Regions from separate parts of the Homo sapiens genome. Here region 1 is linked to region 2. The links are contacts of gene promoters, found by promoter capture Hi-C in human tissues and cell types (Jung and others, 2019). All regions are on one chromosome and are shown on one strand. The core of a region is centred on a gene start or on the middle of the fragment in contact, and the rest is flanking DNA. Distances in the headings are between cores, read along the strand shown.

Region 1 (7,044 bases), core at 2,131-4,630, 56 kb before region 2:
GGTCACCTATCCTGTGGGCCCTCACTTTGAGATATTTTGCCTTTTTTGGCCAAACCAATATGTAGCCTCCATGTATTGTATGACCTTGCCTGCAACCTCTGCCTTCCCACCTTTAAAAACCCTTACACATAAGCCATCAGGGAGATTAGGCCTTAAGGATTAGCTGCCTGATACTCCTTGCTTGCTGCCTGCAATAAATTCCTCAACTTCTGTCTCAGCAATGCCGATATCAGTGCTTGACTTTGATAGGCTGGGTGGGTGGACCCAAATTTGGTTTGGTGACCCTTTGAGCTTCGATTCAAAATTCTAGTTTTGTCACTCTGCAGTTTTGTGATCTTGAGCAAGTTACTTAACCTCTCTGAGCCTTGTTTGTCTTGTGTAATGAAAAGAGCTATACTTACCTTGTGAGGTAGTCCTCAGGATTCAATGAGATAATAAGTACTCACTAAACAAAACTCGTTATTACAAAAGAATCACTTTGTCTCTGAAGTGGGCAATTCAACCCATTTCTAGGAGATTTTAAACATGATTTTAGATATTTGGTGTGATTTTGTGAATGGGTTTATCGTTAATAGCTTTCATGCTCCAGAATTTTCTTGAATAATAGGTTTTTGCAAAGTGCATTCTGTGGAATACTCATTTGGGTGACGTTAATAGACATCACTCAAAAGCTGGGTGAATATTACAATGTTTACTTCATCTGTAACAAGCTGAGTAGCTACAGTACATATCTAAGAGGGGGCTCTAATTCTCAATATTTTCCAAATTTATTAGATCACAGACTTTTAGTGAAGTGCTTAATGAAACTTAAGTTCTGTGAAAAGTACTTTGAGAAATATTGCTTTAAAAAGAAAAAGATTGAGCCTTGTATCAGGGGAAAAATCTAATATTATATTAAACAAAAAAGTCCCACTGAAGAAAATAATCTTATTGTTCATAGACCTTAGTTTAGGTATTGGGGCCAAAGGATGGATGACCATTTCAAATGATCCAGGCTAAGCCAGCCTGGAGGAGAGCTCAAAGTCTGATCTGGTGAGTAAGTTGTGAAGGGAATATGATGAAAAAGTGCACTTCTATTGCAAAGAAATCATGAGCTAGGTTTATATGCTATGCTGTGAATGGCCAATAGATTATAAATTCAACAGTCTCCCTGTCACAGCTATGGTAATGACAACTGTTTAGGCCTTAGGGGAGCTTTAGGGAGAGGCAATTTCATACTTAAGTCACACTGACTTAAAAAGTGAAATATTTGAAATCATTGTTGAAATCACGTGGAGGTTGTCAGCAAGCAGGTGAGGTTGGAATGCCTATCATTTTCCTCAAGCTCACGTCCTCTCATTTTCTTATTTGAAAATCTATTTGGCTCAGAAAGTACACCTAGGGTTAGTTAAAAATCACCTCCTTATGTTCCTTTTAAAGGAAGCTTCCAAGTTATTTGAATAGCTTCCAAGTTATTCATCGAGAAACAAAGCAAATTCAAAGATTATGTCCGTAGGCACAGACTGGATTTTAAGAAATCCTGGCTGCATAAACAATTGTCTTATAGAAAAGAATTTCTGTTCCTCTTTTCCCTCCCCTTGTCAATCCTATTTGTTTCAGACCTGGGTTCAAACACTAGCTGTAGAGGCTATAAGCTATTGGAAGCACATTTGAGCCTGAAATAAACTGAACCTCTTTTGCCTTGGTTTTCTCACTTATAAATGGGGATTTTTATGCCTACCTCAAAGGTACATTGCAAGGATCGAGGGACAGAAAGTGCAGCAAGTGGCCAATGAATAGAAGTCTGGTTTTCTGAGCATCCTTGCAGCTGCAGGCTTCAGTCTACCAGAGAATGTGAGGTGTTATTCTTCTAGGGCAGTGGTTAGAAAAGAAAATGAAAGTAGCAGTACTCTTTTCCTAATGCAACCATAGATGGATGACCAGAATTTGTAATCCATAAGGTAGAAGCTGCTGTGCCTGAGGAAATAGAAAGTGGGCAGAGGTGGAGGGGCAAGGTAGGGAGTGGAGTGGAAGGTAGGGAGAGTTTGATCCTAGCCTGCACTGCTCCTCAGAGGTACTTTAGCCCCTTTGGAACAGTATTAGAAAATCATGGCTCTATCAACTCATGTCTGAAAATCAATTGCTATTTCAGAGCAGGAGGTGACCAATCTTGGAAATAAGGAAGGGAGAGAGGCAGCCAAGCCAGCAGCTCCTAGGATTAGTTACTGCCTGGAGCCAGCTCTTGGAAGTTCCCCAGGAGCTGTCCAGTCTTATGTCATGTCTAGTCAGCAGAGTCCCAAAGAAGCTTGTCATTCTCTAGGCATTTGTGCTTACATTCTGATGGGCCTAATAGCAGGGAGATGACATGGAGCCCAGGCAGAACAGCTGAGATTTCTACTGGTCGTGACCTCCATCTTCTCCTTCATACCTTTCCTACCTTTCTTTTTCCATGCATTCAACAGACATTTATTACCCAATAAGTGCCAGATAGTAAGCCAGGACCTGGGGAGAGCAGATGAGTAAGACACCGTCTCTGTCCCTCAGGAACTCTCAGATTCTTAGGGACACATGTACATCCTAATAAACACAGTGCATCTCATGAATGTGTAAGTTTAAATTATTGATATAGGCACACACAGACAGAGGGACTTCATTCCTTGCAGGTTCTGTAGTATTTCATGCCCACTCTCCTGTCTTCCCTTGCTGCTCACATCATCCTTCCTTCAAGGAATTTGGGGGGATGGTAGACTGAAAGTGGCCCTTTCTGCATAATTCTTCTTGAAAATAAACATTTGCTCTCTTCTTAGAGGCTGACTATACTGAGAGCTACCACTCCTTGGTTGCTTATTAGCCATTGGGTTATTTCTAAGCCCTTTACATATGTTATATCATTTAATTGTATTGAATCTTCACCATAACACTTCAATGGAAATATTTTTCCAAATAAGGAAAGGTGAGACTCAAAGTAGTTGTATTAGTCTGCATTGCTATGAAGAACTACCTGAAACCGGGTAACTTATAAAGAAAAGAGGTGGGCCGGGCATGGTGGCTCATGCCTATAATCCTAGCACTTTGGGATGCTGAGGTGGGCAGACCACGAGGTCGGGAGTTAGAGACCAGCCTGACCAACATGGTGAAACCCTGTGTCTACTAAACACACACACACACACACACACACACAAATTAGTTGGGTGTGGTGGTGCACACCTGTAATCCTAGCTACTCAGGAGGCTGAGGCAGGAGGATTGCTTGAACCCTGGAGGTGGAGGTTGCAGTGAGCCAAGATCACACCACTGCACTCCAGCCTGAGTGACAGTGAGACTCCATCTCAAAAAAAAAAAAAAAAAAAAAAGAAAGATGTTTAATTGACTCTCAGTTCCACAGGCCATACAGGAAGCATGGCTTGGGAGGCCTCAGGAAACTGACAGTCATGGCAGAAGGTGAAGGGGAAGGAGGCACGTCTTACTTGGCTGGAGAAGGAGGAAGAGAGCTAAAGCGGGAGTGCTGTACACTTTTAAACAACCAGATCTCATGAGCACTCTATGATGAGACAGCACTGGGGGATAGTGCTAAACCATTAGAAACCACCCCCATGATCCAATCACCTCCCATCAGGCTCCACCTCCAACACTGGGGATTACAATTCAACATGAGATTTGGGTGGGGACACAGAGCCAAACCATGTCAGTAGCAAAGAGATTTTCCCACACAGCTAAAAAAAAAAAAAAAAAAAAATGGCAGAATCTGGATGTGTGCTTAGGTTTGTCTGATTCCCGGTACACTCCCCTATGCCATTTCTGATCTGCAAAGAACCTGATCCCAATATGATCCTAGAGCCAAGAGATGAGGCGTGAAGTAGCCACCTACTTTGTGTGCTTTCAAATCAGATATGGCAAGATTCTTTGAAAAATCAGTCAACTGGATTAAGCAATGCCTAAGTATGAAAGGATCCTTAGAGGAACTAAACCATTTCTTCATTTTGTTCCATGTTCTTTCTGTGGCTCTACCAAGTTTGTAGGTTAAGAGCAAGGCATCAAAGCTTACTGAGTTTTTCTTCGACACTGAATTGACTCGTTGTCTCAAGAACAGGGAGTCATTGCCCTAGTCTCATCTCATAACATTTACATTTCTTTCTTTCGACTAATGGAGATGGTGCTCCCTGCTCTCTCTAGGAGACCACAGGACCTAGATGATAACCTGCATCCCTAATCCTAAAGGGAGCCTAAGAGCAGTAATGATGGCCCTCTATTTGCAATAGATTACACTTTTCCCATATAAAGCTCTTAGAACTGTCACTGTGAATGATGTGCTGATTGGAGATAATGGTGACAATGATAATTTTATAATTGCACTTTGTACTTCTCATCTCCTCCTGGAATCACAAAAGAATTTGTACATATCCCTTACTCAAAATAGATCCATTAAACTATTATAAGATAAAAAGGCTACAGATAAAATGCTGCCCATTGAGGCCCAGAGGGGAGAGATCCAAGTGGACTTAGAAATCCCCAGCCCAGTGCGGTGGCTCATGCTTGTAATCCCAGCACTTTGGGAGGCCAAGGCGGGCGGAATACCCTGAGGTCAGGAGTTTGAGACCAGCCTGGCCAACACGGTGAAACCCTGTCTCTACTAAAAATACAAAAATTAGCTGGGTGTGGTGGTGGGCGCCTGTAATCCCAGCTACTCGGGAGGCTGAGGCAGGAGAATCACTTGAACCCAGGAGGCAGAGGTTGCAGTGAGCAGAGATCATGCCACTGCACTCCAGCCTAGGCGACAGAGTGAGACTCTGTCTCAAAAAAAAAAAAAAAAAAAAAAAAATCCCCATATCCCCATTCACTGTCCTTTTCTTCAGAAAATACCCCATTTCATATAACTGTCTAAACAATGGTTTAAGGTCTACACAAGATTGTGAAGTGAACCTGCAGGATTAGGAGGGTAAGGATTCCCACCTAGGTGGGCTCACTTGCTCTGCCATACCTGGGTAGGATCCCAGCCCGCTTCTGTGATTGTCAGGAGGCACCAAAAAGGCTATCCTAGGTTTTCTGTCATTCGGCCCAATCATTTCCTCTGCTGGGCAAATGTGGAAGAGGCATTAAGCTGGTGCTCCCACAACTGAAAGGAAAGCAATTCTCTTTCTGTTGTGGTTCCTTCCTCTTTGGACTCTTTTCTTCCATTCCAGCCTATCCCCTTCTTGGAAAAGCTATTCTACCAATAGGAGGGAAGAAACAGCCCTGTGTACCTGATGTGCTACCCTGGGCACAGGCGATCGGACCAGGGATAGACACCTGAACTGATCTGGGCAGATGCCCTCTTCTGGCCATTGAGAATTGACAGCATCAGACATCTAGAACATAATAGTATTTTAAAATTCTGCAGGGACATCCACCAGGCTGAGGGGGACCAATTTTGTTTTAAACATGTATCCTGAACTTGGCCAGGCATGGTGGCTCATGCCTGTAATCGCAGCACTTTGAGAGGCCAAGGTGGGCAGATCACTTGAGGTCAGGAGTTTGAGACCAGCCTGGCCAACGTGGTGAAATCCTGTGTCTACTAAAAAATACAAAAATTAGCCAGGCGTGGTGGTGTGTACCTGTAATCCCAGCTGCTGGGAAGGCTGAGGCAGGAGAATTGCTTGGACCGGGGAGGTGGAGGTTGCAGTGAGGTGAGATCACGCCACTGCATTCCAGCCTGGCCAACAAGAGCAAAATTCCATCTCAAAAAAAAAACAGTATCCCAAACTCGGAAGTAAAAATAGGATGACTGCACGTCTTTCTAATGCCATACTGGAAGGTTGCCTAACAAACCACCAAAGCTTTTTTTAACTCTCTAAGGGAATGTACTTTTGTTTGACTTACTATTTACTATTGATTAGGGCCCAGACTCTGCCAAGTTACATGTTAATTTTTGTCTGGTAGAGATACAAATGATTTTTGTCCTGTAAAAAGATTTTATTGCTCTACAGGACATTAACGAGTGAGGTTTCCAAATTAGCAAACTTATGTCAGCATGCTGTTTCTGATGGTCTATCCAAATCTTTCTCCTTCCAATTCTCTTTTCAAACAGCTTTACCATCTTCTGGTTCTTTCTTTTGTGAAGTATATAGATCTTTATACACACTCCCTATAGACTTATATAAGAATCATATTTTCACTTTTTGAAAATGATGCTTTGACAATTCCACTGAACAGGCTGGGGAAAATTTTATGAGAATTGTTGGATCCTGCTCACAAGCAAAAAGATAAAACCAGGCTATCCTCTATCATGGCTGATCTGGGGTTCATTCCCAGAAATGAGGGTCTTGGATCAGGGTCAAATATGTGGGTGGGGTGGGCTCAATTGCTGAGATACCCATCTCATGAGGAAGGATGGGACCCATATTATGGGAAACAAAACAGGAAGAATGAGAGTGAAAAGATTAATCCTTTCACTAAATTGGGAAAACAGGAGAAAGTGTTGTTGGATAAAGAAGGAACTTTAGCACAATGTGCAGAGACAAGACGGTAAATGTTCCTTATCCAGTAATCTCTGATGAAAGGCCAGTGCTCACATCATTAGTAATGTCCAGAACTAATAATATCAGTAGTAGCAATACTCACAATGTAAATAAGTAGCTCTCATGTTTTGATTGCCAATAGTGCTAGCAACCTTACATGTATCACTCTCTACCCCAGCCCTGTTAATTGGTACTATGATGAAGAAAGAGACTCGAAGAAAATAAATGACTCACTCGCGTATTTTTACACAGCTAGAATTGCTACAGAAAGGATTAAAGCCAAGTCTATCCAACTCCACAGTCTATGTCCCTCCCTCCCTCCCTCCCTCCCTTCCTTCCTTCCTTCCTTGCTCCTTCCTTCCCTCCCTTTCTGCCTCCCTCCCTTTCTGCCTCCCTCCCTCTCTCCCTCCCTCCCTCCCTATCTCAAACATCTATTGAGTGTCTACCATGTGCCAGGCACTGTGTCAGGCTCTTGGGATACAGAAATAAGCCAAGTCCTTGCTTTCAGGGAGTTTACATTCCAGTGAGAGGGACACAGAAACAAATGTATCTCTACGGCAGCAAGTGCTATG
Region 2 (6,811 bases), core at 2,247-4,746:
TGGCTAGAAGTGAGTTTCAGGACATATTGCCAATTGCTGTCCCTTTTCTCCTCCCTTCCCTTGGGCAGGGCATTTGTGTAAACAGACAGTAACGAAATAGAACTGGACTGTCTTATTCCAATTCTTCTCTCCTTGCTTCCATTTCTATTGTAATTATTTTATTAATAAGCTAGGGCTGCCAGCACTCATACTAAGTATAATTTACTATTGTGTACAACCAGTTTTAGGGTGGTAATGAGACACGGTTTTTTGGTGAGAACTGGAAGGTTAGTGACCAATATCCAGAATTCTTTTCCTGGATGACTGTGGATCATAATATCTTCAGCTGTTTTGGGGACTTCTTTGTCTGCAAAAAAATAAAAAAAAACCCCAGTGGAATATGAAGTAGGTTTTTTGGTGTAAAATAGTCCCTTTATGAACTGCAGTTTACCAAAAAGAATTGTTGCTTCCCAGAACTACCATTCAACCCAGGAATCCCGTTATTGAGTGCATACCCAGAGGAATATAAATCATTCTACCATAAAGACACATGCATGTGAATGTTCATTGTAGCACTATTCACAATAGCAAAGACATTGAGTCAACCTAAATATCCATCAATAACAGACTGGATAAAGAAAATGTGCTACATATACACCATGGAATACTATGCAGCCATAAAAAATATCAAGATCATGTCTTTTGTGGGAACATGAATGGAAGTGGAGGCTATTATCCTTAGCAAGCTAACGTAGGAACAGAAAACCCAATACTGCATGTTCTCACTTAGAAGAGGGAGCTAAATGATGAGAACTCATGAATGCAAAGAAGGGAACAACAGACAGTAGGGCCTACTTGAGGGTGGAGGGTGAGCGGAAGGAGTGGAGCAGAAAAGATAACTATTGGGTACTGGGCTTCATACCTGGGTGATGAAATAATCTGTACAACAAACCCCTGTGACACGAGTTTGCCTATGTAACAAACCTGCATATGTAGCCCCAAACCTAAAAGTTAAAAGAAAAAAGAATTATTGCTTCCCACAAACGTGCTAAATTTCAGTATTAGGGTTTCTTTTATTATTAAGATTCTGAAAGTTAACATGTTCCCAATTGATCTCCTCTTTTCTGTAACTTGGTCCACTCATGGTCTTCTCCATTTTGGTTTGTGGCAACTTCCATCTTTTGGGACAAAAATTTGGGCTTCTTTCTCTCATATTCCACATCTAATCTGTCAGGAAATTCTGTGGGTTTGGACTTGAAAATATATCCAAAACCTGACCACTATTTGCCATAGACGCTGTTATCGCCTTTGAGCAAGCCACTTCCATCTTTTGCTTGGCTTATCACAAGAGTTTCTTACTGTTCTCTGTTGACTTTCAGTTTTCCACAGCAGCTCTTAAAATATGTCAGCTGACATCACTCTTCTGTTCAAAACCTTTCCATAACTCCCCATTTCACTCAGAGCAAAGGTAAAGTCCTTAGAATAGCCTACAAGGCCCTCCTTGTCTGGCCCTTCATATCACTCCATCTCATCTCCTACTACTCTCCCCTCATCGTCTGCTCCAGCTATCTTAGCCTCCTTGATGGTCCCAGAATTTGCCAGGCAGGCTCCCATATCAGGCCTTAGCGTTGGCTGTTCCCTCTGCCTGGAAATCTTCCTTCATATTTGTGGAGTTCACACCCTCATTTCCTTCAAGACTGTGCTCACACACCGCCTTTTCAGTGAGGCTTACCTTGACCACCATATTTAAAGTTGCACCTGTACACCTTATCCCCTTCTCTTACCTTATTCTATTTTTTTCACAATAACTACACTTGTCTTTTGAACTTTTTGTTCATTGATGTATCCCTAGGACTTAGAAGAATATCTACCAAGTGGCAGGTATTTAATAAATATTTACTGAATGAGGGATGAATTTATTTTGCTTAACTCAGTATAACCCTCTTAAGAAAACAAGACTATAAACCAGATTTTTTGAGAACGTTAAATTCTTTTTTTTTTTTTCAGATGGAGTTTCACTCTCGTTGCCCAGGCTGAAGTGCAGTGGGGTGATCTCTGCTCATTGCAACCTCCGCTTCCCAGGTTCAAGAGATTCTCCTGCCTCAGCCTCCCGAGTAGCTGGCATTACAGGCATGCGCCACCATGCCCGGCTAATTTTTATATTTTTAGTAGAGACAAGGGTTTCACCACGTGGCCAGGCTGGTCTCGAACTCCTGACCTCAGGTGATCTGCCCGCCTCGGCCTCCCAAAGTGCTGGGATTACAGGCGTGAGCCACTGCGCCCGGGCGAGAACGTTAAATTCTAGTTGAATTAACCGTAATTTAGTATTTCCAGATACAGTATCTGGGATGGTGCAATAGGGAGTTCGATGGAGATTCTGGTAAGGGATATGGTGGGCTAAGAAAGAATTGTCTGTTCTTGATACTAGATAAACCCAGGGGATTTACCCCACTTCAGGTTCTAGAATCATGTATAAAGGCAGAGAAAAGTGATTCTGAGTGAACTTGCACTGACAACTTACTAGAACAAAGCTTCCTGGAGTTAGGGTTCCCGCAGTATGTGTCTCTCTGGAAGGTGGAATAAAAGCCTGAACCCGCTCTGCTACTCTTTGGAAGGCAGCCCTGCCATTTCCCTAGGCCTTGGCCTCCCTCCCTGGAAAAGGATGGTATCCACCGGCTCCCCGTATCGGAGGCTGTTTGCAGGGTGTTCCCAGCACCCCCCAGGGAAGCTCCTCAGAATGCTGCCTGACACATTTTTACAAAATTTATTTTTATTGTGGTAAAACATACACAACATAAAAGTTATCCCTTTATCCAGTTTGCGGTGTACGTTTGTTAACCTTACAGCAAGTAACACATGAGTTTTAAATTAGAATTTGGACAACGGCAAATGAGATGAAAGGCGAACAATCCGAAAGCCGGATCACTGAGGAGCTCTGGGAACGCGCCGCGAGCTGAAGCCACACGGGGAACTCCATTTTGTCGGGACAGGGTCGGTCCTGGCCGCCTCCAGGGAGTCGGGTAGTTTCCGCGGCGTGGCCCGGGCCTCCCCTGAAGTCCGTCCGCCTCTCTCCGCCTGGCCCAGCGGCGCGGCCGCCGGAGGACTCTGTCCACGCGCCCAACGTCGGGCGCCCTGTTCTGAAGGCAAAGGGTCCCCTGCCTCGCACGACTCGGAGCCGCCGAGGAGGTGACGGCGGCAGCCCTGGGGCGGCTCGGTGCCATTCACTACCATCCTGTTTTCCTGAGGCGCGGCCTTCCAATTGCCCCGGCTCCGCTAGGAGGCGCGCGCTCCAGCCGCTCCGCCGCGCGGCCCCGACCGCACTTCAGTCCGGGGCGAAGAAAGAAAAGGCGGCCGGCTCCCGCCGCTCCCCGTCTACCCAGCCGGGCCCGCGCAGGCGCGCGCAGCTCCCGTTCCCGCGGCCGCCCCTCCCCCAGGCCGCCGGGCGCGCCGCGGGCGGGGTCGGCGCGGGGGGCGGAGCCGGCACGGGCTCGGCTGGGGCCCGACCCGGGATTAGTTGGTTTCGGAGCGGAGGAGGGAGCCCCGACCGTCACGAGCGTCGAAGAGACAAAGCCGCGTCAGGGGGCCCGGCCGGGGCGGGGGAGCCCGGGGCTTGTTGGTGCCCCAGCCCGCGCGGAGGGCCCTTCGGACCCGCGCGCCGCCGCTGCCGCCGCCGCCGCCTCGCAACAGGTCCGGGCGGCCTCGCTCTCCGCTCCCCTCCCCCGCATCCGCGACCCTCCGGGGCACCTCAGCTCGGCCGGGGCCGCAGTCTGGCCACCCGCTTCCATGCGGTTCGGGTCCAAGATGATGCCGGTAAGTGGGCGAGCGGCCAGGGCGTCGGGCCCGGAAGTGTGCGGGGTCGCGTGCCGGGGGCTGGTCCGCGCCCTCGGGCGCGTCGGGGAAGGAGCCTGGGGGCCGCAGCCCGCGCGGAGGGGCCGGGGCTTTCCGAGCTTCGAGCGGGTTTCAGGAAGGGGAGGCTCCATCCTCTGGGCTCTGCGCCCACAGCCGTCGTGGGGGCGCGGCGAGACCCTAACCTCGAGGCGGGTTCCTCCAGCTGCTCCGGAGTCAGGCGAGCCGCCCGCGAGCCCAGCAGCCACTCAAACTTTTCGTCTTTCACTGGGTCTTGACTTTTTTGCAGTTCTTGAAGGTCAAGAATACGGGAACCGGGGACCTTGTTCTTTGCTGTGTCTTTTTACTTTTTACTGGAGTGAAACATACGTTACTGGAACGGGTACCTTTGCTTTGTTTTTAATTGAATTTCGATCTTGATATCCACAGTAGCAGCTAAGTCACCCTTACCTCTTTGTGGAAAGGGGTTTTGGTAAATGCAATCTCGGAAGTTTTAGATTGCAGGAAAGCGTACGTGCCTGGCTCCCTTCGTTTCCCACAGCTTTTAGCAAGACCTCCGGAGAGGATTAGTGCCTTCTTTAGGAGCTCCGCAGGCTTTTGACACGGCCACCAGGCCACAGATGAACAGCAGGTTTGAGACATTTCAGAAATGTCTCTGTCATTCAGCGATCGCGGAATGGAGGTTTGCGGTGTGTTGCGGTGGCTTCTGCAGACTTCAGTAGCGAGTTTCTTCGTGGAAGTTGTATTTGCACCTCTCCCACTGAAGTGGGGACATCTTGCAGGCATCCTATGCTTGTGGCTCCATTTGTTCAGACAAAGAAACAAAAAGCTTTTACTTTTATGAAGTCTGTGGAATGGAGTGATGACAAAGTTTGCAGTCATACATACAGAGTATAATATGCTGTTCCCTGGCCCCCTGCTTGTGTCATGGAGGGCGTCCCAAACTCTCACTGGGTCGACTTAACAATTCACTAGAATTAGTAATTGGGTTTAGAGGGTTTGGGATATTTTGTCCTGCCAGGATTCAAGGAATTTGAAAGTATTAATAGCATTATGCATCTTATTTTAGTTTAATGCCTGGTTATGAAATCAGGTTTGTAGTGTGAATACCCAATATTGAAATAATGGACCATAGATAAGGGTGATGGATTTTGCTGTTAAGATTTTTATTTCCTGGATTTACATTTCTTTGTGTTGAAGTAACTTGTACGGATTGTCTGTGAATTTTTCCTAACAGTAGGAGCAAGAGAAACACGTATCAGTTGTTGCTATATGGTTTCTTCCTTGTTTTTTGTCAAGGTATCCTTTGGAGATACCCTACCAAGGTATCCGTTGTGTAGCCGAATTCATAAAACGTTATGTGGCTCTTGAGACTATATTCAATTTAGCAGTATGGTTCTTCTGATTGCCTTTCTGATGTCAGAATACAATCCTAACACAGACTCAGTGTGGTATGATGGCACTTACACCAGCTTTGAAGTCAGACTAACACTTCAGTATTGCTCAGCTACTACCTTTAGTGACGTAGCCACTTAAAAAAAACTTGTCCCTCAGTTTCATCATCTGTAAAATGGGGATAATAGTACTCAGCTCTTAGGGTGGTTTGAGGATTAGAGTTATGTTTATGAAGGAAGTGTGATTAGTACAGTGTCTAGCTTGCAATAGGCGGTAGATAAACGCCTCTGAATTTCCAATGTTGGTTAAAGTGGAGATTCTCAGATTTGTGATATATAAAAATATGAAATAATTTTTCATTTAGTAGACTCATGTTATATGTGTCTTTATACTGTAATATTTTGGATATTTGAAAATAAAACTTTTATTAAGTATATTTCTCATCTTTGGCTTTTCATATGCTTGGATTTTTATTCCAACATAAATGTAATTTTGTTACATTGCTTTGGAAAATTCTAACCAATTTATCAGGAAAAGCCATTTAGTGTAAAAAAATGGATAGTCTCAGAATGTAGACAATTGCCTTGATGTACTTTTATTGTGGTAAAATATACATAAAATAAAATATGCCATTTTAACTATATTTAAGTGTACAGTTCTGTGGCATTAGGTACAACCCTTGATTTGCTTTTAAAGGCATTCTGAAGATAATGGTTTACTATTTAGACTGCATTATATTAAAAATGTGCAAATAGGCCAGGAGCGGTGGCTCATGCCTGTAATCTCAGCACTTTGGGAGGTCGAGGCGGGCGGATCACGAGGTCAAGAGATTGAGACCCTCCTGGCCAACATGGTGAAACCTCGTCTCTACTAAAAATACAAAAATTAGCTGGGTGTGGTGGCGTGCGCCTGTAGTCCCAGCTACTCGGGAGGCTGAGGCAAAATTGCTTGAACCCTGGAGGTGGAGGTTGCAGTGAGCCGAGATGGCACCACTGTACTCCAGCCTGGTAACTAAGAGTGACTCCATAAAAAAAAAAAAAAGTGCAAATAAATTGTGTTCATGTGTTTTCTCACCAAATGGTACAGGATCAAGTGGTTTTCTTTTATGTGGGACATGAAGTGATAATTGGATCCAAAACCAAAAGTGGAAGATGTATTTTAGAAGGCTAACTAAAAATAAGTAGCAAGCTCTGCAAATCACAGTAGAGATAATGATAGGGTACTGCAGAAATGGGATTGATAATTACTCTCACTTTCAGATACCTGCCATTGTTAGTATCTCTAGTTCTATGATATTTCCACAACTTGCCGAGGAGAAACTGGTTTTACTTTCATACTTGACATCTTTTTCCTGATGAAAGAAGAGATTATTTGCACTTTGAGAGTTTGGCTTTTTAGTGATCCGCATGTTGTATTTGATTTTCATGTAAAGGGAGGCAGTTACCAAAAGCAAAAATTCTTAGTCGTTTGAAAATTACATTAGATATCTTTTATTCACTACTTTGATTTTGTGAAGTGTTATGCTCAAAACAAAAATGTGTTCTTAAGAAAGAGCTTGGCTAACTCTAAAAGCTACTCTCTGCTCTTTTCA

The links. Contacts are between HindIII fragments. The study calls those that stand out against the background at their distance.
Region 1: a contact is called between a fragment that was not itself captured here and the fragment with the promoter of TP53BP2 in region 2, in 1 of the 25 tissues and cell types used here (aorta).

Annotation. Positions count from the first base shown.
Region 1 is chr1:223,898,587-223,905,630 of GRCh38, reverse strand. No RefSeq gene overlaps it. Among named protein-coding and RNA genes, the nearest start is that of TP53BP2, 56 kb to the right of the region's middle. The HindIII fragment of the contact is 3,051 bases long and covers 1,855-4,905 here.
Region 2 is chr1:223,842,632-223,849,442 of GRCh38, reverse strand. It overlaps TP53BP2 (tumor protein p53 binding protein 2), which reads left to right and starts at 3,496. Exons shown (of 18, transcript NM_001031685.3): 1 at 3,496-3,789. The coding sequence starts at 3,763. RefSeq lists a silencer at 3,359-3,668. The HindIII fragment of the contact is 6,657 bases long and covers 688-6,811 here.